Linked DNA regions of Homo sapiens: regions 2, 3 and 4 are each linked to region 1. The links are contacts of gene promoters, found by promoter capture Hi-C in human tissues and cell types (Jung and others, 2019). All regions are on one chromosome and are shown on one strand. The core of a region is centred on a gene start or on the middle of the fragment in contact, and the rest is flanking DNA. Distances in the headings are between cores, read along the strand shown.

Region 1 (7,306 bases), core at 2,276-4,775:
TCTGCATGTTGTGCTGCTGGACTCCATTCCTGGCTGTTCTACATCTCTTTAGATCCCCTTATCTTATCTAATTACAAGGAATTCCAGATTAATTTCATGGCCTCTGCTCCAAAGGACCTCTTATCTGTGAGGGCCTTGTATTTTAACCTTGTCATTCTTTTGTTGTTTGTCTTTAAGGGGCAGGCAGCTAAGAAGAGGATGCTAAGATCTTGCTGGAATTGGGTCTGGGGGGGACGGGAAGAAAAGGGAGGCAGACAGACCTGAGATTTGTGTATTCTGTTCTGTCCTCCTGCCTGTGTGCAGAGACAGCTGGCTGCTTTCTTCCATGACAGCCACATAGTACCCAGCCACACAGAACAGGACCCAGGCAGGGACTCAGCTACTGCCAACCTCTCCAGATTGCTTTGATATTTCTGACAGAACAGTAAAGGACTCGTGACTATCACGTTTTGCCTTGCCTCTCTTCACCTCCTCTAAGACTCCTCCATGTGGTTTCCATGGCTACCCCCAATCAGATTTGGCTTCCTGCGAAATTGGATTTCAAAAAAGGACAAGGCTTCAAAGGAATTTGTCCATTTAACAGAATGTCATTAGGAGTGGGGCTGACTGCTGAAACAGGGTCCTCAGATGATTAAGGAAGGGCTGCGTTCATGTGTGGAGGCAGATTTCTGTCTGCAATGAGGAACCTTGATGCAACATGACAATACCGTATTGGAATCTGCCAGTCACTCACTACATACTACCCGACTGTGCACCTCCCTCTACCCCTGTCTCTCTAAAACCCAGAGATTCTTGTAAGGAAGGATGCATATAGAATACGTACACTGTGAGTTTTTGGTGTAAGTAAGCTATGACAGGCAGTGAAGCCTGCAAAGAAGTGCAATTACCTGGGTTTACTGCTCTTTATCAAACAATTCATTAGCTGGTAGCTTATATTAGTATGTGACACCATATCCTTGAAGAAGAGGGGGAGGTTATCAAATTTTCTTCTGTTGCCAAGAAGGAAAGCAAGGCAAAGTTTAGGTTGACATATGGGGAGACTTTGCTGCCCTTGCTGTATTTTTTGTGTAACAGTTTAGATTTACCAAAAAAAAATTGAGATGATAGCACAGACAGTTCCCATGTATCTTTCCTTGCTTTTTAGTATGCCTCATAAGTACTTCAAAATGATTCTAGAGCAGCTACAATTTTATAGGTGAAGTGGTGAAGTTGGTAAAAATGCCATGGGGGTACCTGGTACTTGATCCCAAGCCTGAAAGGGGTAGTCTGCCCATTGCTATACTTTCTTTCTTTCTTTCTTTCTTTTTTTTGAGATGGAGTCTTGCCCTGTCACCCAGGCTAGAGTGCAATGGCCTGATCTCGGCTCACTGCAACCTCCGCCCCCCGGGTTCATGTGATTCTCCTGCCTCAGCCACCCGAGTAGCTGGGATTACAGGCGTGCACCACCATGCCCAGCTAATTTTTGTATTATTAGTAGAGACGGGGTTTCACTATATTGGTCAGGCTGACCTCAAACTCCTGACCTCGTGATCCGCCTGCCTTGGCCTCCCAAAGTGCTGGGATTATAGGCGTGAGCCACTGTGCCCAGCCACCCATTACTATACTTTCTCAGGGCAGGAAGGAGGATGAGCAGGAGCCAGATACCCCAGAGAGGCTCATGCCAGCCTCTGTCCCCTCACCCCAATTTACTGCAGCTTGTAGGTGGGTCATGTGACACTGAAACCAATGCACCACTGCTTTTCAGATGGCAGGATGCACTGTACTCCTTAAAGGATCACACCCTCATCTTTGAGGCTGTATCTCTGGATGGGAAACAGTACAAGGAGGCAGGCACTTTTATCACACTCATCCTTCTCGATGGTTTCTTCTTACTGCTCTTGCCCCGTCTGCTAGATTGAGTCCATCATTATTCCCCTTATGGCTGTTGTAAAAACCATTTTACCCACTTCCCCCTGTGTCTTTTCCCACCACTCCTAATCTTTTCTACATATTCTGTAGGTTGAGTCTGAGAATAGAAATGCCATTTTTTACAAAGAAGGAAAAAGGCAGAGGTGGAGATGTGTGAGGCCACATACCACCCCGGAGCTCTGGTTAGGTCATTCCCAATCTCAAAAATTGTCAATGGCTCCCCAGTGCCCTCTCAATTAAGTTCAACATTCCTATTCTGACTTTCAAGTCCCTTCACAGTAGAGCTGCAGTTTATCTTGACAACCATAGTCTTTCTACAACATCCAGTAAAAGAGGGCTACTAACTATTCCTCAAGCTGGTGAGGGCTCTTCCATCTTTCTTTACTCTGGTCCTTCCACCTGGAAAGTCCTCTGCCCCTTCAAAGTCTGGTGTGTTTTTCAGAGCCCATCTCAAACACCACATGCACCTTTAAACACTCACATGCACACTGGCACTTCTTTTTATTTTCTTTCTTTTTTAAGAGACAGGGTCTTGCTCTGTTGCCCAGGCTGGGGTACACTGGGGTGATCATAGTTGGCTGTAACCTCAGATTCCTGGGCTCAAGTGATCCTCCTGCTTCAGCCTCCCAAAGTGCTGTGATTACAGGTGTGAGCCACAATGCCTGGCCTCTTCCCTCCTTTTCTGGTATTCAGCTCCCTTCTTTTATCAACCATAGCACTTTATACTTTTTTCATGGCAGTTGACCTATTGTACTTAAAAAACCTCTTTATTTTGAGAATTATAGATTCACAGAGAGTTTCAGAAATAATAGAGGAACTCTGTCTACCTTTACCCAGTTTCCCCCAAGGGTAACATCTGGCACTATTACAGTACCATGTCACAACCAGGACACTGACACCAACTGTCCCTTGAATGAGACCGTGTGATTTTGTCCTTCACTTTCCTCCCTTCCGCAGCTCCTGGAGGGAAAGGGCTCTGTTCTCCTCTCCCTCAGCTTTCTCCCTGTGTTACCCCTTCCTTTCCTCAGGGCCTTTCCATCCTGAGGGAGAACAGCACAGTTTGGTTTCCTGTGTCCCTTGCTGCCACGCTGCCGCGATTCTCCCAAATGTTGGTGTCCTTATATTGCTTATTGGGAATTAATCATTTCCTTTCAACATTGTGGCTTCCCAAAGAGCGAAGTTTTGCCCTCTTTTCTGGGGATGGAGATGTGAACTGGACCGGCAATTGAGGGGTGCTATGCTTGACGGGGATCTCTTCCTTGGATTCTGCCTCCCTGCACCCTACTTCAGGCACCCCGTGGTCTTTCAAATCTGCCACCGTGAGGTCAACTGTTCGGTGCTTAGGATGGAGTGTCCAAAGCCGTGGGTCCTTTGAGCCTTGTGAAGTCTTTTGTTTTGGTGGGTGCTGGAGGGGCGCACCTTTGGCCTCGCACGGTGCGGTGCTTCCGGCACCCCCAATCCTTCTACCGTGGGGCTCCGGCGTGAGCGCCACGTGCACCCACGCCCCGCGCCCCGTTCCGGTCCCCGCCTGCCGCCCGCGCCACTTCCTGACGCGCCCGGGGACCCACGGCCCCGCCCCGCGGCCGGGCTGGGCGGGCGGCGACCGCGGCTGAGGTACAGGTGCCTCGCGGTGCAGCCGGGTCGCCTTCCAGCCCGTCCGCCTCCCGACCAGGGCCCGCGCCCCGTCCCGCCTCTCTCCCGCCCAGCCAAATGCAGGCCGCCGCCCTCCCTGAGGAGATCCGTTGGCTCCTGGAAGGTAACGCCCTGGCGCAGGCCCCCTCCAGTGCTGAGCCGAAGGCCGAAAGGGGACACCAGGCCTCCCACGGCCAGGCTTTCTTTACGGCTTCGTCACTCACCTCCTTCTAGAACCTTAAGGCTTCTAGAGCCCTCAACTCCCTAGAGCCAGCTTTCCATCCTCTCACCTCAGGGCCCCTTTCACTCCCTGGAGTCCCACATCTTCTTTTGCCTTGAGGCACCTCCACGCCTCCACTTCACCTCCCCGGCTTCTAAAGTCCTCAGGCCAGGTTCTTGGTCCCCCATGCCACCTTGCCTGGTCTCCGACCTGTCCCTTTCTCCAAAGGACTGCCCTACATCTGTAGGGTTTCCCGTCCCCCTCCTTCCCCAGCCACGACTTCCTCACCTCTCACAGAAGACCCCAAACCTTCCTGCTTAGAGGTCCCCGAGGCTCTCCAGGGGGCTGCGAGGGGCTCATGGGATCCCCATGGGCCAAGGCCAGGTGGTTGACGTGAGTTTTTGTCAGTGCGAAAACCCCAGCCCTCCCTTTATCACCCTGCAGACGTCTAGGGGTCTCACCCACCCCAAGGCAGGCTCATTCTCAGTATGGGATTTCCTCCTTTTCTAGAAGTGCCCCCATTGTGGTGTGTTCACCTTCCAACTCCCATTGTGGTGTGTTCACCTTCCAACTACAGTGTCTAAGCGGTGGTTTAAAGAGTTCCGGCCATCCCCGTCAACACTCAACACACACTGCCAACACTCCAAAGAGATGTCACAAAGAGACGTTGCTAACGGGCAGTTTCATCTGCTGGGTTTCGTGGTGGAAGTCACTTTTACTTGCTTTCCTGTAACTAACCTTCCAGGGAGGACAGAGGCCTGGAATCTGCAGTCGCATAAGGCTCCCAGGAGGAAACTATTCAGAATTAAGCCTTTTGGCATCTAAGTTGACATAGTTGACACATATTTAACAGACGGCCTGCTTTGGGCAGGTCATATTTTTGGCAAGCAGTATTTTTTTTCAGTTTCTCTCAATTTAATTGGTTTTATATCTCCATTACCTTGTTATCTCGGTATAAATGCCTCCTAATCAAATATTTGGCAAGTCCTTTTGGTCTCTGTCTGTAGCACTATTTCCATTCTGGATTGCTTCTATGTAAAAGCTGTCAGCTAGATATTTCTTTTGAGGTGAGGTTTCCAAAATCCGTTTTACTTACGATCAGAATAAATCTAAATTTTGGGGGTAGAAAACTATTTGCAGGGTAAAAGAGAATTATCTGGGTGTCTAAGAAGAAACAATCCAGCCTTTCCCTCTGTTGTTGGTTTAATATTAGGCTTGTGAAGGAAGGCTGTAATTGTCTTTGGTTTCTAGGAAAGAAGGGACTGTGGCAAAAAGTTTAACTCTGCCCTTGCATTGAAATATATAAACTGATTCTTTTTATTGGTATCTGTCATTTGATGAGAGGAAACCTATTTTATAAGCTTATTAAACTATACTTCAGTTTTGTGTCTAGGCTTGGTAGAAAATTCCTTTTTATTTTCAGAGGCTTGCAATGAAATCCATTCCTTCAGCATTTTTGATGTGCAGTTCTTCATTGTTCAAAACTGACACTTTGGTAAACAACTCATTTCTGCACCTGCCACCTTCCTTTAGCTTAGATTATTTTCTTGTTAGCTGACTGTTTTTAATTGAAGTCTTCAGATCTCCTTCTAAAGCAGAACCTTTGTTTGCTGACAAGTAGAGCGGGGTATGAATGGAGATTAATTGCATGTCGCATACTTCTGTATCAAGCTTGCTGTATCTTAACAATCTCTGTTGGTGCTCAGGTCTTTAAAATATATGGAGGAGTCTGAAACCAAATTATAAGGAGCTTCGTTGGTTAATGTATTTCTTTAAGGCTTTTTTTTTTAAGTTTGCAATTAGAACTTGAATCTGAAGTAGAGAAAAAAATGTAAAGTGTGATTCATCCAGTAATTCTATTGAAAAATGTTTGAAGATATGTTTTTTAAAGGTTCCTGTAATAATAATAGCAATATATTGGTTACAAGTTTTATTTCTTTTGGAACACAGTCGCTGGTGTAGACCAGGAGGATTATTCATTGTGTTACAAATAATCTGTCCATATTAGAAACCCAAAATGGCCATCAATTTGTTGTTTGTTGCTATTTGTCTCCCCCACCACACACTTTTTAAGGTTAACTGTTGACAATTAGAAAAAATGGAGGTCCTGATCTCTATATAGTCACTCTGTGGGAGGGAGTCACAGGATGTGAGGGCTGCAACTCTAGTGCTGCCACATGGCTGTGGGGGTGGGGTTTCCACAATGAATTACTACTTTCATAAACCAAGGCATAAGCATTTGCACAGTGATTTAACACTGGACATCACAGCCATAACTTAAGCATTTATTTATTTATAACTACACAAGCATAAATGACAGGGGCATTTTTTGACATAATGTGTGTGCTTTTAAGAATAAAATATGTAAAGCATTGTGAAAGGTAGATAACAAAATTTTGCATAATGAAGAGAACAGAAATTCCCAAGGCCTAAAATTAATTTTGTTTAAATATAAAATTTGAGACACTTGGAAATGTTTCACTCGACCTAGAAACCTCACTTCTAAAAATCTGTCACTGAAGTGAAAGGTCATGAAGTAGTATATGCACGAAGATCTATGCTAAATGTTAATAAGTTGGGAGACTCAGGGTGATGGTTGAATGAATTATGGGACATTTGTCTCATGGAATACTTCACAGCCACTAAAAGAGTATTCTGTGGATCTATATATAGGCTTGGAAAGTGTCCATGGCATATTTTTAAGACTAAAAGGCAAAATGCATGATAGTACATGTAATATCCCATTTTTGCTTGAAAACCAAAAGACAAAACAAGAAAAGCCACATATGTTATAAATATTTGTGTAAGCCTAGGAATAAGTAAAAAAGAATATATACCAGACTGTTAACATTGGCTTCCTTGAGAGAAGACTGAGAGTTTGGAGGAGGGGAGGTTATTAATTTTTATTTCATACATCTTTGTGTTGTTTGAATTGTGACAATGACCATGCATTACTTCTGTAAACAGGAAAAAATAAACAGTAAGGGTATTTAAAAGAAAAAGGAACAAAAGACAAATAGAAACTCAGAGAGGTCAGAGTGCTAACGGACCATTTACTATGCTTGTGATCATGTTTTTCTCTTTTTAGCCCTGAGGGGTATGGAAGGTGGAGAAATTAAAAAAAAAAAACACGCTATCTTGGATTTTTGGCAAATATCAAAACAGTGTGAGGTTTCTAGAGTAACTCAGGAAATAGCTTCTTTAGATAGACTCTGTCAAGCTCTCATATAGAAATAGTAACTAGTCCCCTATCAACAAATAAATACCTCATAGATAAGTAAAATGGAGGGTGCTTTCTGCTTTATTGAAAGAGGAGGAAATATTCAGGTCTGTTTTCAAATAATGGGGCTTCAGATGTAGAAGTTATCTTTTTGTTTTTGTTCTGTGATAACCACACCGAAAACAAAAACAATGAAGTGCTGGCAGTTTGCATAATCTTTGCTCCACAGATATAAACATAATCAGTCTCTTCTTCCTGGTCTTTCTAGCCCTGCTTTTGAAGTCAGAAGCAAAAGAGACAAGTATGAAGGAGGTGGAATAGATATT
Region 2 (7,306 bases), core at 3,367-5,866, 400 kb before region 1:
GAGCTCATGTTCTGAGGCTTGAGTGTATAGTCAAAGGAAATTCTAGCTATTTTCATTCACCTGAAAACCTAATAATCTGTCTGGAAAAGTGAACAGCTTTGGTTCCTTGCTTATCAAAAATGCAAAAGACCCCATGGAGTTTCCCATTTCAGAAATCTCATCACCTTCCCAGAAGGGACTCAGAGGGCATCCAATGGCATGTGAGGTATTGAGAACTCAATCATTCTTGAAATAAGGTTAAAATTCTCCTCTGCCAAGGCTGGGGAAGGGTTTGAGGAGGCAAGTAGATGAGAACAGCAGTGGCTTCTCTTCTCTCCTTTTTACCAAGCTGTGGACACAAAGGGCCATGAGTAAACTAGAACATAACCATGCCAACCCGAACTTGGTCAGTGAGGAAGTATTCCAGCTTTTCCTGGAGGGAGGGCATCTACTGAGTTTTCAGGTCAGTAATCTTTAGTCTTCCCTTCCTCCCAGTGATAAAATTCCTGGGAGAAATGGGCTCCAACAATGGCTTGGGAAATTACCTTTCTGACAAAGTAGTCTAGAAATGAGTATTTGTGGACAGGGGAGGGAAGATATGTAAAGAGAATTATTTTTTTTGCGGGGGGGCAGGGTCTCACTCTGTCACCCAGGCTGGAGTACAGTGGCACAGCCATGGCTCACTGCAGCCTCAACCTCCCAGGCTCAAGTGACCCTCCACCTCAACCTCCCAAGTAGCTGGAACTATAGGTATGCGCCACCATGCCCACCTAATGTTTGTATTTTTGTAGGGATAGGGTCTCCCTATGTTGCCCAGGCTGGTCTTGAATTCCTGGACTCAAGCAATCCTCCCGCATTGGCCTCCCAAAGTGCTGGGATTACAGGCGTGAGTCACTACACCTGGCCCATGAAAATTAAAATGACTTAAGCATCAACTTCCCCTCCTTTAACCACCTTTCCCACTATAGAACCTGTCTACCATCCATTTCTAACTTGGCAGCAATTCATAGAGGTAAAGAAAAGAGAAGAAATATAAGAGCAAAAGTTAAATTTAGAAGCCCAGAGAACTGCTGAGTTATGAAAAATTAGTGGGACGAGCTAGGTCCCCTAGAAATTATAAAGTGGTATTTTACCTAATTCCTTATTCCAACCCTCAAATCAAAGATTGGCCACATAAGGAATGAACAGAGAAAACAAATAGGGATTTTCAAAAACAAAACTATCAAGCATGGGTAAAATAATGCACAAATTCCACAAACTGTCAGAGGCAACTTTATTTGGCCTCTGACATAGTCATTACCTTTTTTCAGCTCAGTTTCCAAAAGGATTAGGGCCCTCAGAGGAGCAGGCAATAATGGGAAAGTATTTTTAAATGAGTCCCCTGAACTGTCTCCTAGCTTCCAAGAAAACCTGACACATCTTCATCTAATGAGCTTTTCAAGCCTAATATACTACTCCCAGGGCTGTTCCATGAGGACATAGATCCTCTTATGTCTTCCTGAAGAAAAGGAACAGCAGCCTGTTCTACTTCTGCTCTTGCTTTTTTTTTTTTTTTTTTTTTTTTTGACATAGGGTCTTGCAGGCTGGAGTGCAATGGCATGAATGTGGCTCACTGCAGCCTTGACATCCCTGGCTCAAGCAATCCTCTCACCTCAGTTGGAGTAGCTGGGACCCTAGGCATGTGCCTGGCTAATTTTTGTATTTTTGTAGAGACAGGGTTTCACCATGTTGCCCAGGCTGGTCTTGAACTCCTGGACTCAGGCGATCCATCTGCCTCGGCCTCCCAAAGTGCTGGGATTACATGCATGAGCTACCGTGCCCAGCCTACTTCTGCTCTTTCTAACTGCATCTGCAAACTACACTGATAGGTTTTTTAGCAGAAAATTTTTTAAATGGCCAACATGTTTACATTAGCCTTTTTTATACCAGTGGGCATATATTTCAAGAGAAATGAAGACTACAGATTAGTTCACAGAAGGAAATCAAATGCTTCTACAGGCAAGAAAGACATGCAAATCAATTCTTCATTTGAGAACAGTAAAAACAAAGATAAAAGTCAAACCCAATTTAATTGGATTCCTTTATCTTTCTGCTTACTTTTTTTCTTTCTTTTTTTTTTTTTTTTGAGACAGAGTCTCTCTCTGTTGCCCAGGGTGGAGTGCAGTGGTGTGATCTCAGCTCACCACAACCTCTGTCTCCTGGGTTCAAGTGATTCTCCTGCCTCAGCCTCCCAAGACTACATGCATGTGCCACCATGTCCGGTTAATTTTTGTATTTTTAGTAGAGACGGGGTTTCACTATGTTGGCCAAGTTGGTCTCTAACTCCTGACCTCGTGATCCACCCACCTTGGCCTCCCAAAGTGCTGGGATTACAGGCGTGAGCCACTGTGCCCGGCCTTCTGCTTACTTTTCTTTCTAAACGATTAGCAATTAGCAAAAATGGATGAATTGATTTGAATCCCGTTTCTCCCTGGCTATGGCAGAAATGCTTACACATAACCAGCCTTAAAGAATACCAGCAGTGGATACTATGGGTGTGTGTAGATGGCCCTGAAACAGGTAGCAAAAGCAAAGACACAATCACTGGTCTTCAAATTATCGAGCCATTTGCTCTAGCCCAAAATTTCCAAGTTAATTCTAGACCCTTACCTAAAATATGAAAATGTTTCAGAGTGTCTTACAAAAATTTTACACCCCAGGAGGCCTTTATTACTACTCATTAACAATTGTTTGAATTTGCTGTCCAGCTTTTTCTAAACAGGCCCTCATCTCACATCCACACCACCATAGTGCTGGCGCCAGTTCTAGGGGAAGATGGAAAAAATAGTTCTGGGACATCAGGTGCGGGCAACTGGAAACTCTGAAAGGCTCAAAGCTGTGTACTAATCTCCATTTTACTGAGACCATCCACTTTTCCCTTGACAGGGGTGATTCTAACATGCCATGTCCCTGTGACATGGGCAGTGACAGTGTTTGAAGTGTGGTGGAAAGGGGACTAGGCTAACAGCCAAGGGAGCTGGGTTCCTATCTTAGTTCTGCCACTCTGAGAGCTTGGCCAAGTCACAGTACCCTTTTCTGGCCTGTTTCCTCATCAGCAAAATGCATGGCTAAGGCTAGAAAATCTTCAAGGACCTTGCCTGATATAATGATGATCCTAAGTGAAGGAAAAAAGAAGTGAAAGAGTTCATTTAACTCTCTTTTCATCTAAAAATAATTAAGGATACATGACATTCTATCAATACATACTGCCAAATTAAATTTTTGTTTGTTTGTTTTTTGAGACGGAGTCTCACTCTGTTGCCCAGGCTGGAGTGCAGTGGCGCCATCTCGGCTCACCGCACCCTCCGCTGTCTGGGTCCAAGCGATTCTCCTGCCTCAGCCTCCCAAGTAGCTGGGATTACAGGCGCCCGCCACCACGCTCCACTAATTTTTGTATTTTTAGTAAAGACAGCGTTTTGCTATGTTTGCCAAGCTGGTCTTGAACTCCTGACCTCAGGTGATTCTGCCCGCCTGGGCCTCCCAAAGTGCTGAGATTACAGGCGTGAGCCACCGCGCCTAGTCAGCCAAATTAAATTTTTAAAGAGCCACAGATGTACTATCTGACTCGAAAGACAATATGACCTGTTAGTGCCAGGTAACTCAGGATTATCGACTACCTTTTTCAAGGCCCTTTCCATTCCACAGCTGTCATGTCTGCCAAAGGATAGAGTTTCCAGGTCCCTTGAAAATACCTGGGAAACTGAGCCATCTGGATATTCCTTAATCATGTATTCTCCACAAGCTACAAAGACCTACCACATAAAGTCCTTTACTTGCAATGGTGTTTCCAATAATAGAATAAGTTATATTATCCATATTTTACTCAGCTCCAACCATGGTCACTTGTTGGCTTGCATGTGAAGCAAGAATCCAAGTGATAGAAAAGAGTTAACACGTCCAGTGGGGTTGAAATAATATACGAGTGGGAACATTAGCTCCCAAACTAAGCTGGGTCAGTGGTGGAGGGGCAATGGATTAACTGTAGAGGCAGGTCACGACACCGTCTTTCCTCCTGCCTAGAACGTCTTCTCCGACAGCTGCAGCATGCAAAAGGCAAGGCGCTTCAGGGATCAAACCTACTCGTAAAGGGGGACACTGAGGCCCAAAAAGAAAGTAACTTGCTCAGGGTGACGCAACAAGGCTCCACCTCCGCCTCGAAGCCAACGGCGATGACATCCAGGCGAGGGATTACGGAACCACCACAGCCTGGGCCCGCGGGAGGGGACGGGACGCCACGACCCGTGGGGCGGCAGCCGCCGCCTCAAGACCCTCGCCGCCGCCAGGGGTGTCACTTCTTCCCGAGGAGCCTCCCACCCTGCCACACAGCACTGCAGCGCTGCCCTCCGCAAGACAAAACTGCCCCGCAACCCTCCCGGGCCGCGGGAGGGGCTCCAGGGCCTTCAGAACACCACTCCCACTATCACCCCAGAGGGTGAACTGCGGTGAGAACCGAAACTTGCCACACCTCTACCCCCGTGGCCCCTTCTCAGGACTGCAAGTCTGAATGTGGGCACCCCGAGGGCCTAACTGCCCCTTTCCACTTGAGGCACTCACCAGGGACAGCAACCAGCAGCGGCGCGACAGCAACAGGGCAGAGTGGGACGGGGGCGGGGCTAAGCACCCAAGGGAGAGCCCGTCCCGCCTGCCCCGCCCACACGTCACAACGGTCAGCAAGCCCCGCCCCCGCGCGGCGCTTGCTGGGACTTGTAGTGTTCAGGTGACCGGGCCCCAGGAGCGGTCTTCTGCCTTTGATGGCTCTCCTAAGTCCTGAGCAGCAATCTCACCGAAATAAACCTACTTCATCCCCTGGAAGAAGCTGTTTACTTTTCTTTTTTTTCTTTTATACCTTTATTTCTTTTTTCTTTTTCTGTCGTCCAGGCTAGAGTGCCATGGTGCGAACACGGCTTACTGCAGCCCCGACCTCCCGGGCTCAGGTGATCCTCCCACTTCAGCCTCCTGAGTAGCTGGGACAACCACGGTGCCCATACGGCGCCCGCCACCACGCCAGGCTAATTTTTGTATTTTTAGTAGAGATGGGGTTTTGCCATGTTGCCTAGGCTGGTCTTGAACTCCTGGGCTCAAGAGGTCCAGCTGCCTCGGCCTCCCAAAGTGTTGGGATTACAGACCTGAGTCATCGCGCCTGGGCTACATCTTTATGTCTTTCTTCCCTGAATGAGAAAGCTTTATACATTTGAAGGGCCATTAAGAGGTCATCTTCATTTTTCTCCTGGGTCCACTTAACACTACTTCACGAAGAGTCTTTATTTTTTTTGAGACAAGGTCTCACTCTGTTGCCCAGGCTGGTGTGCAGCGGGGCGATCTCGGCTCAGTGCAACCTCTGCCTCCTGAGTTCAAGCTATTCTCGTGCCTCAGCCTCCCCAGTAGCTGGGATTACAGGCACCCGCCACCATGCCCGGCTCATTTTTTTGTATTTTTAGTAGAGACGGGGTTTCACCATGTTGGCCAGGCTGGCCTTGAACTCCGTCTCAAAAAGAAAAAAGAGAATAAACTCATGGCCAGGCACAGTAGCTCACGCCTGTAATCCCAACATTTTGGGTGGCCGAGGTGGGAGATCTCTTGAGCCCAGAAATTTCAGATCATCCTGGACAAGATAGGGAGACCCTGTCTCCACAAAAAATAAAAAAATTAGCCGGGTGTGGCGGTGGGCCCCTGTAGTCCCAGCTACTCAGGAGGCTGAGGTGGTAGGATCACTTGAGCCTGGGAGGTGGAGGCTGCCATAAGCCATGATCACACCACTGCACTCCAGTCTGGGAGACAGAGCGAGACCCTGTCTCAAAAAAAAAAAAAAAAAAAAAAAAAAAGAATAAACTCAGTAAGAAAAGAATTCTGCTAAGTCAATTTAAAGAAAATCCCCCATCCTTAATATCTAATAACCCTGGCCTGCCTTCAACAAGAGTCCTGTTAAGTTGGTTTAACAAGAATCTCCTTTTAGTAATTTTCCATGCAGTGACCCCTCACTCTGCTTGTTGGCTATAAATCCCACTTGTCATTATTGTATTCAGAGTGCAGCATAATCTCCCCTTTGGTCCTGAATAAATTCTTCCTTGCCATTTTAACAAGTTTCAGAATATTTTTTTCTTTAACATCCAGAAGATGTTAAATGCTGTATATGCTGTCTATGAAAGATTAAATTTGGAAGTGCCCCTTCTTCCACTGTTTAAATGTGGAAAGAAATTTTTCTGTGCCATCTCAGGCAGGGGAATGAGCATTCCTTTTTTTTTTTTTTTTTTTGTCGAGACAGAGTCTTGCCCTGTCGCCTAGGCTGGAGTGCAGTGGCATGATCTGGGCTCACTGCAACCTCCACCTCCCGGGTTCAAATGATTCTCCTGCCTCAGCCTCCTGAGTAGCTGGGACTACAGGCGCCCGCCACCACGCCCGGCTAATTTTTGTATTTTCAGTAAAGACGGGGTTTCACCATATTGGCCAGGCTGGTCTTGAATTCCTGACCTTGTGATCCACCAGCCTCAGCCTTCCAAAGTGCTGGGATTACAGGCATGAGCCACCACACCCAGCGGGAATGAGCATTCCTAATCTGCTTCCTCACAAGACTGGTGGCATTCAACTGAGATGAACGGATGGTGGGAAATGATGAGTAAGCCAGGAAGTGGGTCATCCGTCTAAAGTTCAAATCACCTTCTGAGTTACCAAAATAATATCTTCCATTTTAAACTCGGTCTGCAGGGACAAGTGCCCTCAGTATCCTGGATACATTTCCCTTAATTTTACTTATTAGATTTTCTAAAAGCACTGAGAATGAAAACCATCTGCACCCACACAGCTTATTGTCTACATTAACATGATAACTATTTCAGTAAATTAAAAATGAAGGCTGGCCGGGCATGGCGGCTCACGCCTGTAATCCCAGCACTTTGGGAGGCCGAGGCGGGCGGATCATGAGGTCAGGAGTTTGAGACCAGCCTGGCCAACATGGTGAAACCCAATCTCTACTAAAAATGCAAAAGTTAGCTGGGCATGGTGGCAGGCGCCTATAATCCCAGCTACTTGGGAGGGTGAGGCAAGAGAATCGCTTGAACCCAGGAGGCAGAGGTTGCAGTGAACCAAGATTGCGGAGGTTGCAGTGAACCGAGATTGCACCTTTGCACTCCAGCCTGTAGTCCCATCCACTCAGGAGGATGAGGCAGGAGGATCACTTGAGCCCAGGAGTTTGAGTTTGCAATGAGCAGTGATTGCACACTGCACTCGAGCCTTGGCAACAGAGCGAGACCTTGTCTCAGAAAGAAAAAAATAAAAAAAAACCAAACTTGCC
Region 3 (7,306 bases), core at 3,167-5,666, 390 kb after region 1:
GCAGTGAGCCAATATCACCCCATTGCACTCCAGCCTGGGCAACAAGAGTGAAACTCCTTCTCAAAAAAAAGAAAAAAAGAAAAAGAAAAAGCAACAACAGTGATAGATGTGGGGGTGATGAGAACTTTGTGGTTCCTAAGCTTCCTTCCCCAGCCTTCTCTCATTCCTATCCCCTTGGCCCCTCTCCAGTGCCTTCCCATCCCTAACGTGTATAACTGACTCCTTCCCCACCTCCCCTATGGAGCCAGCCCCCTAAGTCCCCTATCTTCCCAGGTCTTCCTCTGTCCCTTCTGGAGGCTGCTGGTCTTTCATAGTGGGTACCATAGCCAAACAGAGGCTGAGAAATGCTCCTGGAGGCTTTTTGGTGCTGTCCTTGTAAATATGAGCCAAAAAAAAAAAAAAAATGGACTAGCTCACAGAAATATTAAGACATCAAAATAACCAAATCAGTATTTTTTAGAAATAACATACCCAGCCAGCATGACCATTGACATAACTTCTGATGATCTGGAATCCGAAGAAATAAAATGCCCAAATGCTGGGTCTTTTCCCTGGCTGCTGTTATCAAATAGTGTCATTATGTTCCCTATTATAACTGATAGCCTGCAAGAAAGGTTCAGATGTGCCTTCTAAGTCATCATATAGGGAGGGTCAGTAGATGCTTCCTCAGATGTCTGCATGGCCTGCTTCCTCCTTTCCTTTAGCTCTTTGTTCAAATGTCACCTTGTTAAAGGTTTTCTCAGAGGACTATGAAAATGGCTTTCTGGCTTGCCTGTCCCTTACCCCTCACATTCCACATCCCATTTCTGCTCTATTTTTCTTTGCAGCACTTATCCCCAACTCATATAATATCTACTTTTCCCATTTATTTGTGTATTATATCTTGCACAGAAACGCACGCATGTACATACACAAACACTTGATTGTAAGTTCCATGAGAGCAAAATTTTTCTTTTGTCTACTATTGTGTCCCAGTGGCTAGAAAAATATCTGGTACATACTAAGCACTCAATAAATATTTGTACAGCACATAAAATATGTTGTCTTTTTTTTTTTTTTTTTTTTGGAGATAGAGTCTTGCTCTGTTGCTGAGGCTGCAGTGGTGTGATCTTGGCTCACTACAGCCTCTGCCTCCTGGGTGCAAATGATTCTCCTGCCTTCACCTCCCAAGTAGCTGGGACTACAGGCACTCGCCACCATGCCTGGCTGATTTTTGTGTGTTTTTAGTAGAATCAGGGTTTCACCATGTTGGCCAGGCTGGTCTCGAACTCCTGGTCTCAAGTGATCTGCCCGCCTTGGCCTCTCAAAGTGCTGGGATTACAGGTATGAGCCACCACACCCAGCCAATATGGTATCATTGATAGGTACATTTTAATTATTATTAGTTAAAATTTGGTATTTGTGAATATTTATACATGATCTCCCTCATCCTGAATTCCTTTATTCATTTACTTCACAAATGCTTATTAAATATCTGTCATCGGCCAGGTGCAGTGGCTCATGCCTGTAATCCCAGCACTTTGGGAGGCCGAGGCAAGCAGATCACAAGGTCAAGAGATCGAGACCATCCTGGCCAACATGGTGAAACCCTGTCTCTACTAAAAATACAAAAATTAGCTGGGCGTGGTGGTGTGCACCTGTAGTCCCAACTACTCGGGAGGCTGAGGCAGGAGAATCACTGGAACCCGTGAGGCGGAGGTTGCAGTGAGCCGAGATCTCGCCACTGCACTCCAGCCTGGTGACGGAGCAAGACTCCGTCTCAAAAAAAAAAAAAAAAAATCTGTCACCAAGCCTTGTAAGAAACACTAGGGATTCCACAGTGAACAAGACAAACATAATTGGCCAGGTGAGGTGGGTCACACCTGTAATCTCAGGGCTTTGGGAGGCCGAGGCAGGAGGAGGGCTTGATCCCAGGAGTTCAAGACCTGCCTGGACAACACAGCAAGACCCTGCCTTTAAAAAAAATAATAATAAATAACCAGGCATGGTGGCACGTGTGTATCGTCCCACCTACTCAGGAGACTGAGACAGGAGAATGGCTTGATCCTGGGAGTTGTTTGTGTGTGTGTGTGTGTGTGGGTGGGTGGGTGGGTAGCAGGTTCTCGCTCTCTTGGCCAGGCTGGAGTGCTGTAGTGCGGTCTCGGGTCACTGCAACCTCCACCTCCCAGGTTCAAGTGATTCTCCTGCCTCAGCCTCCCGAGTAGCTGGGATTACAGGCACCTGCCACCACCCCCGGCTAATTTTTTTGTATTTTTAGTAGAGATGGGGTTTCACCATGTTGGCCAGGCTGGTCTCAAACTCCTGACCTCGTGATCCGCCTGTCTCGGCCTTCCAAAGAGCTGGAATTACAGGCGTGAGCCACCGTGCCCGGCCGACACTGGGAATTTGAGGCTGCGGTGAACTATGATCACACCACTGTACTCCAGCCTGGGTGATAGAGCAAGACCCTGTCTCAAAACAAAAAAACAAACAAACAAAAAGTCACATTCATTGGTTCTTGCAGGGCTCAAAGTCTGGGCGGGGAGAAGGAACACTTATAAACAAACTAGTAAAGGCTGGGAATGGTGGTTCACGCCTGTATCCCAACACTTTGGGAGGCTGAGGTGGGAGGATCACTTGAGCCTAGGCGTTCAAGACCAGCCTGGGCAACATAGTGAGACCTTGATCATGATCACCCTCCTCCCCCTCCTCCTCCTCTTCCTTTCTTTTTCTCTTCTTCTTCTTCTTCTTTTTTTTTTTTTTGAAACAGATTCTCACTCCCATTGCCCAGGCTGGAGCACAGTGGCATGATCATGGCTCTGCAGCCTTGAACCCCCAGACTCGGGTGATTCTCCCACCTCAGCCTTCTGAGTAGCTGGGACTACAGGTCACACCACCCTACCTGGCTAATTTCTTTGTAGTTTTAGTAGAGACTAGATCTTACCATGTTGCCCAGGCTGGTCTGGAACTCCTGGGCTCAAGCCTTCTGCCCACCTCAGCCTCCCAAAGTGCTGGGATTACAGATGTGAGCCATTGAGCCCAGACTTGAGACCTTGTTTCTACAAAAATAAAAAAAATAAAAAAATAAAAAATTACCTGGGAGTGGTTGCATGCACCAGTGGTCCCAGCTACTCGGGAGACTGAGATGGGAGGATTGCCTGAGCCCAGGAGGTTGAGGCTGCAGTGAGCCCAGATCGAGTCACTGCACTCCAGCCTGGGCAACAGAGTGAGACCGTGTCTCAAACAAGCAATATTAGTAAAAATAATATTTAGAGATTGAAAAAAGTGCAATGAAAGAAAGAAATAGGAACTGAGAGAATGTGACAGGAGAGACCTATCAAGTCAGATATGGTGGCTGTCAGGAGGACCTTTTGGTAATTATATTTCAGCAGAGGCTTGAAGATAAGAAGACTTGATGCATTCAGTGAGGAAAACCCCATTCTGTAACCATCTAGGGTAAGTGACTGTGGTCCACAACATAAGAGGGCTTGAAGAGAAGAATAGGGAAGAAATTTTGAGTCAAAAATCTGGGTTCTATCCCCAGTCAACTAGCTGTATAGTCTTGAAAAGGTCACACAACCTCTGAGTCTCTCTTTGCTTAAAATGAGGGTCCATTATGCCTATCTTACAGGTGTGGGCTATATTAGATAATGGATGTGAAGGTGTCAAATGTAAAATACACGCACAGTGTTTTTACCGGTAAATGCATACGTAGCACTAACATATCACTGGGATGTGAATTTCCCACTTGCCAGTGTACCCTGAAATGAGAGCTTGTCTTAGTTAGACTTAGACCAAAGAAACCAAAACATGCTGCAAAGCCCGATGTCATTGGTGGAGCATTTGTGCTGCTGGGCGTCTGTCTTGCTTCTGATGGTGCCATATCTGTGACTTAGGAGAGCCTGGGGAGGTGTCTCCGGGCCCATGGTTGCCTTCTGCAAGTAGTGAGAGAGGAATGAGAAAGCCTCTTCACAGAGGGGTGTCCCCAGAACTGTCCTCATTTGCTCTTGCTTATAGACCCTGTCCCTGAGATCTAAAGGGTGACCTGACGTATTTGTCCTCATGGTACCTACCAGAGGTCAACAGACAAAAGTGGGCTTTGCTTGTGTTTGCTGCTGGCCCCAGGACAGCCTATAGACACTGGCGCACACCAAAGCCACAGGCCGGAGAGCAGGCAGGAAGCAGGACGAGGGCTGGTCTTGGGGCACCCTGAGGATGCAGAGTTCGGGGATGTAAGGGACTCGGGAAGGAGCCAAGGAGGAGAGAGGGAGAGGAGAAGTGGGGGAAGGAGAGGTGGGGTGAGGGCGGGAGGGGAGATGGGGGAGAACGAGCAAGAGGACGGGGCCCCGAGGAAAGGGAGGCCACGCGCGAGAGGGGGCCGCGGGGCGGCGCGGAGGCGGGGCGGCGGCGGCGGGCAGGCGGCGGGCGGCGCTGTCAGTGCGAGGCGGCGAGCGGAATGCAGCGGCCCGAGGCCTGGCCACGTCCGCACCCGGGGGAGGGGGCCGCGGCGGCCCAGGCCGGGGGCCCGGCGCCGCCTGCTCGAGCCGGGGAGCCCTCGGGGCTGCGGGTACGGAGCGGGCGGGCGCGGGGATCCCGGGCGGCGGGAGCTGGGCAGGGACAGAGCAGGGTTAGGGGGAGCAGCCAACTCAGAACTCGCGCGCCCGGCGGCTGGGAACTTTGTGTCACCCCTGACTGGCCCCAGGACCCGGGAGGAAAAGTTCGTCCCAGCGCCGACCGGAGAGGAGGCCTGTCCTGAGTCCGTCGGCGCGGGGCTGAAGTTCTGGGTCCGTTTGGAGTGGGGGTGGCGGGTGAGTTGCGATTCCGCGGGGAGGGTAAGGAGTGGCCTGTCCGTCCCAGACTCGGCTCCCATCACCGGTGGGTGATGGGCATGCTTCTGGAGTCTACCCGGGCCAGGGCCTGGGGGCGCGCTGATAGCGCAGGTCCAGCCCGGCCAGGGATCAGCTGGAAGAAGGAGGCTCGGCCCGCTGTCCCCCCCGGCCCAGGTTCTGTGATACACTCCGACTCGGGCTCTGGAGCAGTCAGTGCATGACAGAACTTGGGCCCGGAAGGACCTTCTGCACCCAACGGGCACAGCGCCCACTCGGGGCCTGCAGTGGAACATCTGCCTGGGAGTGGAGTGGGCACCTGGGTTGGCCCATGTGGCACAGGGCTGGGCAGAACCAGCTGTGGACCTTGAGGACTGGGGTTGCTGGGGCCTGAGGATGTATCCTAGGGCCAGCAGATCCCATAGACACAGGGTGTCCACCTCGAGTCAGGGGCCAAACGGAACTCTCCTCTCCGGTGTCAGTTGCAGGAACCTTCCCTCTACACCATCAAGGCTGTTTTCATCCTAGATAATGACGGGCGCCGGCTGCTGGCCAAGGTAACCTCTGACCCCACCCATGAGGGACACAGTTCCCACTCAGCTGACACTCCTGTCTCAGGAGAAACTCCACTGTGATCTCTGTGACTCAGGGCAGCTCAGCTTAGACCCCTCCAGAGGTCCTTCTCATCCTCCTGCCTTGTCAAGGTGCTGCTCCCTGAAATGAGGGGTCTCCTCTATTTCTACTCATGTTCCCTGAAATGTTTCCTTATCATCCTGCTACTGGCCAGTTGGACCTGGGCATGGGAAGGTTCTGCCTAATGGGTCAGTGGAGTGTTGAGCCTGGGACCCAGGAGTCTTAGTCCCCAAACCCCCACACAAGTTCTTTTGTTCTTTGGGGTTTGTCTCTAAACCTCCACTTTTGTTCTACAGCTTGGTAAACACTAACGATTTAGTCTAAGGAGTCTAAGGATTTAGAACCAGATGGGATTTTAGAAACTGTATAATCCAACTCTTTAATTTCGTAGATGAAGAAAATGAGGGGTAGAGAAGCTAAGTGAGTTGCCTGAGGTCACAAGTATTAATATCCTAACAGATCCAAACTCAAATTTTATTTATTTACTTATTTAATTTTTTCACTTCTCCCATTTCACAGGTTTCACAGGCAAACTCGGGTTTTTTGACATGAAGCTCAAGGTGGTTTTCACTGTACCCCCATTCAATTAGCTGTTATCTATCCTAGCAAACATGGCCTGAGCGAACCAAACTAAAATAATCCAAAAATAAATTTCTGCTGTCAACACAATTAATTGTAGGGGAGCTATAGCATCTGCATTAGCTATGAAATGCATTATAAGGCCAGGTGTGATGGCTCATGCCTGTAATCCCAGCACTTTGGGAGGCCAAGGCGGGCAGATCACTTGAGGTCAGGAGTTCGAAACCAGCCTGGACAACATGGTGAAACCCTGTCTCTACTAAAAATACAAAGAATTAGCCAGGCATGGTGGTGGGCGCCTGTAATCCCAGCTACTCGAGAGGCTGAGGCAGGAGAATTGCTTGAACCTGGGAGGCAGAGGTTGCAGTGAGCCGAGATCACACCATTGCACTCCAGCCTGGGCAACAAGAGCGAAACTCTGTCTCAAAAAAAAAAAAAAAAAGAAAAGAAAAAGAAAAGAAATGTGTTGTAAGGCCAGGCGCAGTGGCTGATGCCTGTAATCCCAGTACTTTGGGAGGCCGAGGCGGGTGGACTGCTTGAGCCCAGGAGTGCCAGACCAGCCTGGGCAACATGGCACACCCCATCTCTACAAAAAACAAAACAAAACAAAAACAAAAAACAAAAAAACGAAAATTAGCCGGGCGTGGTGGTGTGTGCCTGTAGTCCCACCTACTCGGGAGGCTGAAGTGGGAGGATTGCCTGAGCCCGAGAGGTTGAGGCTGCAGTGAGCCATGATCGAGCTACTGCACTCCAATCTGGGTTATAGAGTGAGACCCCATCCCAAAAAATAGATTTTCTGTTTGTTTATTTGGAACTGAAAGTTTTTTGTTTTTATGAAATTCAAATAAGCAGCGGCCACTAGGGAGATGGCTAATCTGCCTGCGGATTGAGTATTAAGTGGCAAAATCCACATCCAGAAAATTGAAAACTGAGCTGACCACACCTTGCCCCAGCAGATGGTCAGAGGTGGATCAGCAAGGCCAAAGGCTTTTCCTCCCTACAGATTAAGAAACTGAGTCAGAGAGAGAGGCTCACCATTCCCAAACAAAAAACATTAATTTAGTTATGGGATATGTGTGAGGAATTGTTTCTTAGATATTTAATCTTCACTATAACCCTGTCTGCAGTCAGACCGTCCTTAGTGGTCAAACCCAGCTTTGGCCTCACAACTGTGAGATGTTGGGGAAGTTACCTGACTTCTTTTTTTTTTGAGACGGAGTCTCCCTCTGCTGCCCACGCTGAAGTTCAGTGGCGCGATCTCAGCTCACTGCAACCTCCGCCTCCCGGGT
Region 4 (7,306 bases), core at 2,094-4,593, 340 kb after region 1:
TTTACTGTGTGGATTACCAAAACTGATTTTTGTACTTACATAGGTCATCAGAAATCTTAAAATTTTTGTCACAAATAGCCGGGCGCAGTGACTCGTGCCTGTAATCCCAGCACTTTGGGAGGCTGAGGTGGGCAGATCATGAGGTCGAGATCGAGACCACCCTGGCCAACATGATGAAACTCCATCTCTACTAAAAATACAAAAATTAGCCAGGGGTGGTGGTGCACGCCCTGGAAGGCTGAGGCAGGAGAATTGCTTGAACCCAGGAGGCGGAGGTTGCAGTGAGCCGAGATCATGCCACTGCACTCCAGCCTGGGTGACAGAGCCAGACTCCATCTCAAAAAAAAAAAGTCACAAATAAATTTCGTTAAAATTTTCTGTTTGTATCCAGAATTTACTTCCTTTCTTTACTCCTTGGAAGGTAAATTCCTTTTGCCATTTATTTATTTATTTAGAGACAGAGTTTCACTCTTGTTGCCCAGGCTAGAGTGCAGTGACACGATCTCGGCCCACTACAACCTCCACCTCCCGGGTTCAAGTGATTCTCCTGCCTCAGCCTCCCGAGTAGCTGGGATTACAGATATGTGCCACCACGCCCAGCTAATTTTGTATTTTTAGTAGGGATGGGCTCTCACCATGTAGGTCAAGCTGGTATCAAACTCTTGACCTCAGGTGATCCGCCCACCTCGGCCTCCCAAAGTGCTGGGGTTACAGGCGTGAGCCACCGTGCTGGGCCCCGAGAACTGATTTATGTCTGCAGTAATGTGTGTAATTTCACTTGAGGAATATGGTTTTTGCCAATCCTCTTACAGCAGTAGCTTTTATCCAAGAATGTTCATCAAAATCACCTGTGGAGCTTTGAAAGATGCAGATGCCTGGCCAGGCGCGGTGGCTCATGCCTGTAATTCCAGCACTGTTGGAGGCCGAGATGGGCGGATCACGAGGTCAGGAGATAGAGACCATCCTGGCTAACACAGTGAAACCCTCTCTCTACTAAAAATACAAAAAAATTAGCCGGGCGTGGTGGCAGGCACATGTAGTCCCAGCTACTGGGGAGGCTGAGGCAGGAGAATGGCGTGAACCTGGGAGGTGGAGCTTTCAGTGAGCCGAGATCACACCACTGCACTCCAGCCTGGGCGACTGAGTGAGACTCTGTCTCAAAAAAAAAAAAAAAAGATGCAGATGCCAGCTTTTAAAATTGAGCTATGAATTAATTACTCTTGATTCAGATTTATGCTGTTCCTGGATTCCTTGGGATACTATAAACAAGTTTTGGGGTTTTTTGTTTTGTTTTGTGTTTTATTGAGACAGTCTTGCTGTGTCGCCCAGGCTGGAGTGCAGTGGTGTGATTTTGGCTCGCTGCCAATGTCAAAACAGCATTCTTCATTATAATAAAGGAAACCATACAATGGAATACTATGGCAGCTGTTAGGGATGGAGATCTTTATGGAATAATGTCAAAGATACATTGCATTGTATAAAATGGTAAACTGGTGCTTGCTTAAGCAGCACATGTACTAAAATTGGAACGATACAGAGAAGATTAGCATGGCCCCTATGCAAAGACGACACACAAATTCATGAAGCAGTCCATATTTTTAAGTATTTTTTTAAAAAAATCAAAAGTAAGAAATTTTTATTTATTTATTTATTTATTTTGAGATGGAGTCTCGCTTTGTCGCCCAGGCTGGAGTGCAGTGGCGTGATCTTGGCTCACTGCAACATCCGCCTCCCGGGTTCAAGCGATTTTCCTGCCTCAGCCTCCTGAATAGCTGGGATTACAGGCATGCGCCACCACGCCCGGCTAATTTTTGTATTTTTAGTAGAGATGGGGTTTCACCATGTTGGTCAGGCTGGTCTCGAACTCCTGACCTCGTGATCCACCCACCTCGACCTCCCAAAGTGCTGGGATTATAGGCGTGAGCCACCGCACCTGGCAACAAGAAAAATAAATTTTTTTTTTTTTTCAGACGGAGGCTCACACTGTCTCCCAGGCTGGAGTGCAGTGGCGCGATCTTGGCACACTGTAACCTCCACCTCCCAGGTTGTAGCAATTCTTCTGCCTCTGCCTCCCAAGTAGCTAGGATTACAGGCGCCTGCCACCACGCCCAGGTAATTTTTTGTATTTTTAGTAGAGATGGGGGTTTCACTATGTTGGCCAGGCTGGTCTCAAACTCCTGACCTTGTGATCCGCCCGCCTTGGCCTTCCAAAGTTCTGGGATTACAGGCGTGAGCCACTGCGCCTGGCCACGTTATATATTTTTGTAATTGAATGTTAATATATGATTTTAATTAGAAAAAATTAACTGCTTTAAAAACACCACTTCCTCATGTATTCGCTGTGGAGTGGGGTCTAGGCATCTGTATTTCTTCTTTTTTCTGTTTTCTTTTTTTTTTTTTTTTTTGAGACTGAGTCTCGCTCTGTTGCCAGGCTCTGGAGTGCAGTGGTACAATCTCAGCTCACTGCAACCTCTGATTCCCCGGTTCAAGTGATTCTCCTGCCTCAGCCTCCCAAGTAGCTAGGACTACATGCGTGTGCCACTATGCCCGGCCAATTTTTGTGTTTTTACTAGAGACAGGGTTTTGCCATGTTGGCCAGGAAGGTCTCGATCTCATGACCTAGTGATCTGCCTGCCTTGACCTCCCAAAGTGTTGGGGTTACAGGCATGAGCCACTGCGCCCAGCCTTTTTTTAAATTTTTTTTGAGATGGAGTCTCACTCTGTTGCCCAGGCTGGAGTGCAATGGCATGATCTTGGCTTACTGCAACCTCCGCCTCCCGGGTTCAAGCTATTCTCCTGCCTCAGCCTCCTGAGTAGCTGGGATTACAGGTGCACACCACCACGCCCAGCTAATTTTTGTATTTTTAGTAGAGACTGGGGTTTCACCATGTTGGCCAGGCCGATCTCAACTCCTGACCTCGTGATCCACCCACCTCGCCTCCCAAAGTGGTGGGATTACAGGCGTGAGCTATCACACCCAGGCAGGCATCTGTATTTCTAAACTCCATAGGTGATTCTGATTCTCATAGAGGTGAAGGTTCTTGACTCAGAGTTCGCTTTCCTCTGAATTCTTTTCTTTTTTTTTTTTTGAGATGGCGTCTTACTCTGTTGCCCAGGCTAGAGTGCAATGGTGCGATCTGGGCTCACTGCAACCTCTGCTTCCCAGGTTCAACTGATTCTCCTGCCTCAGCCTCCTGAGTAGCTGGGACTACAGGCACCCGCCACCACGCCCAGCTAATTTTTTGTATTTTTAGTAGAGATGGGGTTTCACCATGTTAGCCAGGATGGTCTTGATCTCCTGACCTTGTGATCTGCCCACCTCTGCCTCCCAAAGTGCTGGAATTACAGGCGTGAGCCACCGCGCCCGGCCATTTTTGTTTATTTATTGTTTTTTTCTTTTTCGTTTTCTTTTTTTTGAGACGAAGTCTCACTCTATAGCCCAGGCTGGAGTGCAGTGGTGTGATCTAGGCTCAAGGCAGCCTCCGCCTTCTGGGTTGAAGTCAAGTGATTCTCCTGCCTCAGGCTCCCAAGTAGCTGTGATTACAGATGTGCACGACCACGCCCAGCTAATTTTTGTATTTTTTAGTAGAGACAGGGTTTCACCATGTTGGCCAGGCTGGTCTCAAACTCCTGATCTCAGGTAATTTGCCTGCCTCAGCCTCCCAAAGTGCTGGGATTACAGGTGTGAGCCATCATGCCCAGCCCTGACCAACATTTTAAATGCCTCACCTTGGCATTTAGCTAGAAACCCTACTGGTTTAGTTTCTTAGGTCTGTAGGTGTTACCATGGCCTCACATTTATAATTTGGTTTTTCAAACTGGCAAGAAATCAGAATCGTGGAAGTTCCTAGCATAGCACTTCATAGTTCATGTTTATGGTGGCAGCCAAGAGCTGTGGCCATACTGGCTTCTTGAAGCCTTCTCGTACCCTTTCACAGTACAAACTATTTCAAACCAAAATGAAATGCCTAAGCTTGTGTCTGTTATGTTACTGCCTTCTGCAGTCAAGTAGCATTGTTGCTTCTTTACATTTTCTAGCTCCTCAGTGCAGGGGTGGAGGGTGGGTGAGGAAAATCACAACAGTACTCTTTCTCTTAAAATTGAGCTATGAATTAATTACTCTTGATTCAGATTTACACTGTTCCTGGATTCCTTGGGACACTGTAAACAAGTTTTGGGTTTTTTTTGTTTTGTTTTGTTTTTTATTGAGACAGAGTCTCGCTGTGTCACCCAGGCTGGAGTGCAGTGGCGTGATTTTGGCTCACTGCCAATGTCTGCCGCCTGAGTTCAAGCAATTCTCATGCCTTAATCTCTCGAGTAACTGGGACTACAGGTGCATGCCACCGTGACCAGCCTATTTTTTTTGTATTTTTAGTAGAGACGAGGTTTCGCCACGTTGGCCAGGTTTTTCTTGAACTCCTGACCTTAGGTGATTCTGCCCTCCTCAGCCTCCCAGAGTGCTGGGATTATAGGCGTGAGCCACCGCGCCTGGCCTGGTTTCTTAAAATTGACATTTTCTCAGTAGTTCTCTCTCTAGTCTGCTTGCTAGATGTTTAACTTAAAAAATTCTACACTATGTAGCACTTGTCAATTTAAAAGACTCAAAAGACTGCTGGGGCATTAAAAACCCAGCTTTGTTTCTGTCTGCAGGTTTAATAAACAATGAATACCTTCATATTCCAGAAACCAATTAAAAATCATTGTTTTTTTTTTTTTAACAGAGCCATACCTTTCAAGGTCTTTTCTGAGAAAAATCATTACCAGTCACTTTCTTATTTACCAGTGACAAATTGTAGGGAGGAGTCATCTTAAGAGACCTCTGTGTCCTTTCCTTATACAGGCTGGAGGGATGTTACCCTGTAGGTTTTTGGCTAGCTGCTAGTTTTATGTGTTCAACAGGGCATTTAGCCTAGCCTTGCTAGATGGCCTTACTGAAGTGCAGTGCTTCGTTTAATTGTGTGACCTTAGGTGATCTATTTCATCTAAATTTGGTCTATTTGTGAGGCAGAGATAACATCTGAATGGCTTATCTCACAGGATGGTTTTGAAGATTAAATGAGATAATGTGGTAGCACTTTGTAAACTGTAAAGTATAATGCAAATGTAAAGTATTATTTTTCTAGGAATCTTCAAATGTAGCAGACTCAGCAAATGTTTAGGTAAAAATTATGGCAATGCTAGATTTCTTTGTTTACAATATTGTGATATAAACCATACGAGTTGGCTAAGTAGGACAACTGAGGATCTCAAACTGAGGTTTGAGTACATACTGTAAAACCATACTCCCCTATTTGTAGTCCAGTCAACTCAGTTACTAGCTTCAACTAGTAACTCTTGAGAGTATTGGTTTTTTTTTGTTTTTTTTTGTGAGACGGAGTCTCGCTCTGTCGCCCAGGCTGGAGTGCAGTGGCGCGATCTCGGCTCACTGCAAGCTCCGTCTCCTGGGTTCACACCATTCTCCTGCCTCAGCCTCCCAAGTAGCTGGGACTACAGGTGCCCGCCATCACGCCCAGCTAATTTTTTGTACATTTAGTAGAGACGGGGTTTCACCATGTTAGCCAGGATGGTCTCGATCTCCTGACCTCATGATCCACCCACCTCAGCCTCCCAAAGTGCTGGGATTACAGGCGTGAGCCACCATGCCCGGCCGGGAGTATTGTAAATAATAAATGAGTAGGCAGGGCGCCATGGTTCATGCCTGTAATCCCAACACTTGGGGAGGCCAAAGCGAGAGAATTGTGTGAGGCCAGGAGTTTAACAGAAGCTTGGCGCCCGGCACAGTGGCTCACGCCTGTTATCCCAGCACTTTGGGAGGCTGAGGCGGGTGGATCACGAGGTCAGGAGTTGGAGACCAGGCTGAGCAACATGGCGACCTGTCTCTACTAAAAATACAAAAATTAGCTGGGTGTGGTGGCACGCACCTGTAATCCCAGCTACTCAGGAGGCTGAGGCAGGAGAATCGCTTGAACTCTGGAGGCGGAGGTTCAGTGAGCATGATGATTAGCACCACTGCACTCCAGCCTGGGTAACAGAGCAAGACTCCGTCTCAAAAAAAAAAAAAAAAAAAAAAAAAAAGGAAAGAAAGAGAAGCCTGAACAACATAGGAACACCTTGTCTCCACCAGAAAAAATTGAAAAAATTAGCCAGGTTTGGTGGTACAAGCCTGTAGTCCCAGCTACTTGGGAGGATGGCTTGAGCCCAGGAGGTCGAGGCTGCAGTGAGTTATGATCAGGCCACCGTACTGGGCAACAGAGCGACACCCTGTGTCTAAACAAAATTTTTTAAATAAATGAGTAAAGTGTTTGTAATAGTACCTGGCACATAATAAGCACTCACTATTATTAGATACTTCAGTGAAACTTTGCAGATAAACATGGCTGGTTGAACTACATGGTTCTACTCCTTTTGAAAATCTCACACAAGTAATGGTCAAAGGATTTTTTTTTTGGAGGGGGGATGGAGTTTCGCTTTTGTCGCCCAGGCTGGAGTGCAATGGCGCAATCTCGGCTCACTGTAACCTCTGCCTCCCAGGTTCCAGCGATTCTCCTGCCTCAGCCTTCCAAGTAGCTGGGATTACAGGCGCCCACCACCACACCCAGCTAATTTTTTGGATTTTTAGCAGAGACAGGGTATCACCATGTTGGTCAGGCTGGTCTCGAACTCCTGACCTCAAGTGATCCGCTCACCTCGGCCTCCCAAATTACTGGGATTACAGGCGTGAGCCACCACGCCACCTGGCCAATAAGAAGATTTTTAAAGAGACAAGAAAAATAGGAAAAAGACAAGTAGAGATGTCAGAAAACAGCTGGAAAACTAGTTACTGACCAGAAAAAGCTAAAAATTAAGTAGGACTGGATTTAGGAAGAGCCAAGAAGGTACAACAAACCAGTTTGTGTCACAGGATTCTGGAAAGGCCACTAGGTACCCCTGACAATAGGGGTGCAGGTGGAATTTACAAAGTGGTAATTGACCAGGCATGATGGCTTACACATGTAATCCCAGCACTTTGGGAGGCTGAGGCGGGAGGATCACTGGAGTCCAGGAGTTCAAGAACAGCCTGGGTGACATAGTGAAACCCTGTCTTTAAAAAATAAATAAATAAATAAAAATTAGGCCAGGTGCAGTGGCTCATTCCTGTAATCCCAGCACTTTGGGAGGCTGAGGCAGGCAGATCACCTGAGGTTGGGAGTTCAAGACCAGCCTGACCAACATGGAGAAACTCTGTCTCTACTAAAGATACAAAATTAGCTGGGCATGGTGGTGCATGCCAATAATCCCAGCTACTTGGGAGGCTGAGGCAGGAGAA

The links. The method cuts DNA at HindIII sites, captures the fragments that hold promoters and counts their contacts. A contact is called where the count stands out against the background at its distance.
Region 2: a contact is called between the fragment with the promoter of CALCOCO2 here and the fragment with the promoter of SKAP1 in region 1, in 1 of the 25 tissues and cell types used here (adrenal gland).
Region 3: a contact is called between the fragment with the promoter of COPZ2 here and the fragment with the promoter of SKAP1 in region 1, in 1 of the 25 tissues and cell types used here (small bowel).
Region 4: a contact is called between a fragment that was not itself captured here and the fragment with the promoter of SKAP1 in region 1, in 1 of the 25 tissues and cell types used here (thymus).

What each region holds. Positions count from the first base shown.
Region 1 is chr17:48,426,433-48,433,738 of GRCh38, reverse strand. SKAP1 (src kinase associated phosphoprotein 1) reads left to right here and starts at 3,525. Exons shown (of 13, transcript NM_003726.4): 1 at 3,525-3,664. The coding sequence starts at 3,619. RefSeq lists a silencer at 3,352-3,611. The HindIII fragment of the contact is 11,559 bases long and covers 1-5,276 here.
Region 2 is chr17:48,828,345-48,835,650 of GRCh38, reverse strand. It overlaps CALCOCO2 (calcium binding and coiled-coil domain 2), which reads right to left and starts at 4,616. Exons shown (of 13, transcript NM_005831.5): 1 at 4,573-4,616. RefSeq lists a silencer at 4,201-4,360 and an enhancer at 3,731-4,612. The HindIII fragment of the contact is 23,399 bases long and covers 1-7,306 here.
Region 3 is chr17:48,034,907-48,042,212 of GRCh38, reverse strand. COPZ2 (coat protein complex I subunit zeta 2) reads left to right here and starts at 4,416. Exons shown (of 9, transcript NM_016429.4): 1 at 4,416-4,546; 2 at 5,288-5,362. The coding sequence starts at 4,436. MIR152 (microRNA 152) reads left to right here and starts at 4,966; the gene lies at 4,966-5,052. RefSeq lists an enhancer at 3,250-3,299. The HindIII fragment of the contact is 11,602 bases long and covers 1-7,306 here.
Region 4 is chr17:48,082,972-48,090,277 of GRCh38, reverse strand. The region is part of intron 1 of CBX1 (chromobox 1); the gene reads left to right. It also overlaps the pseudogene RNU6-1201P. Among named protein-coding and RNA genes, the nearest start is that of CBX1, 15 kb to the left of the region's middle. The HindIII fragment of the contact is 8,049 bases long and covers 1-7,306 here.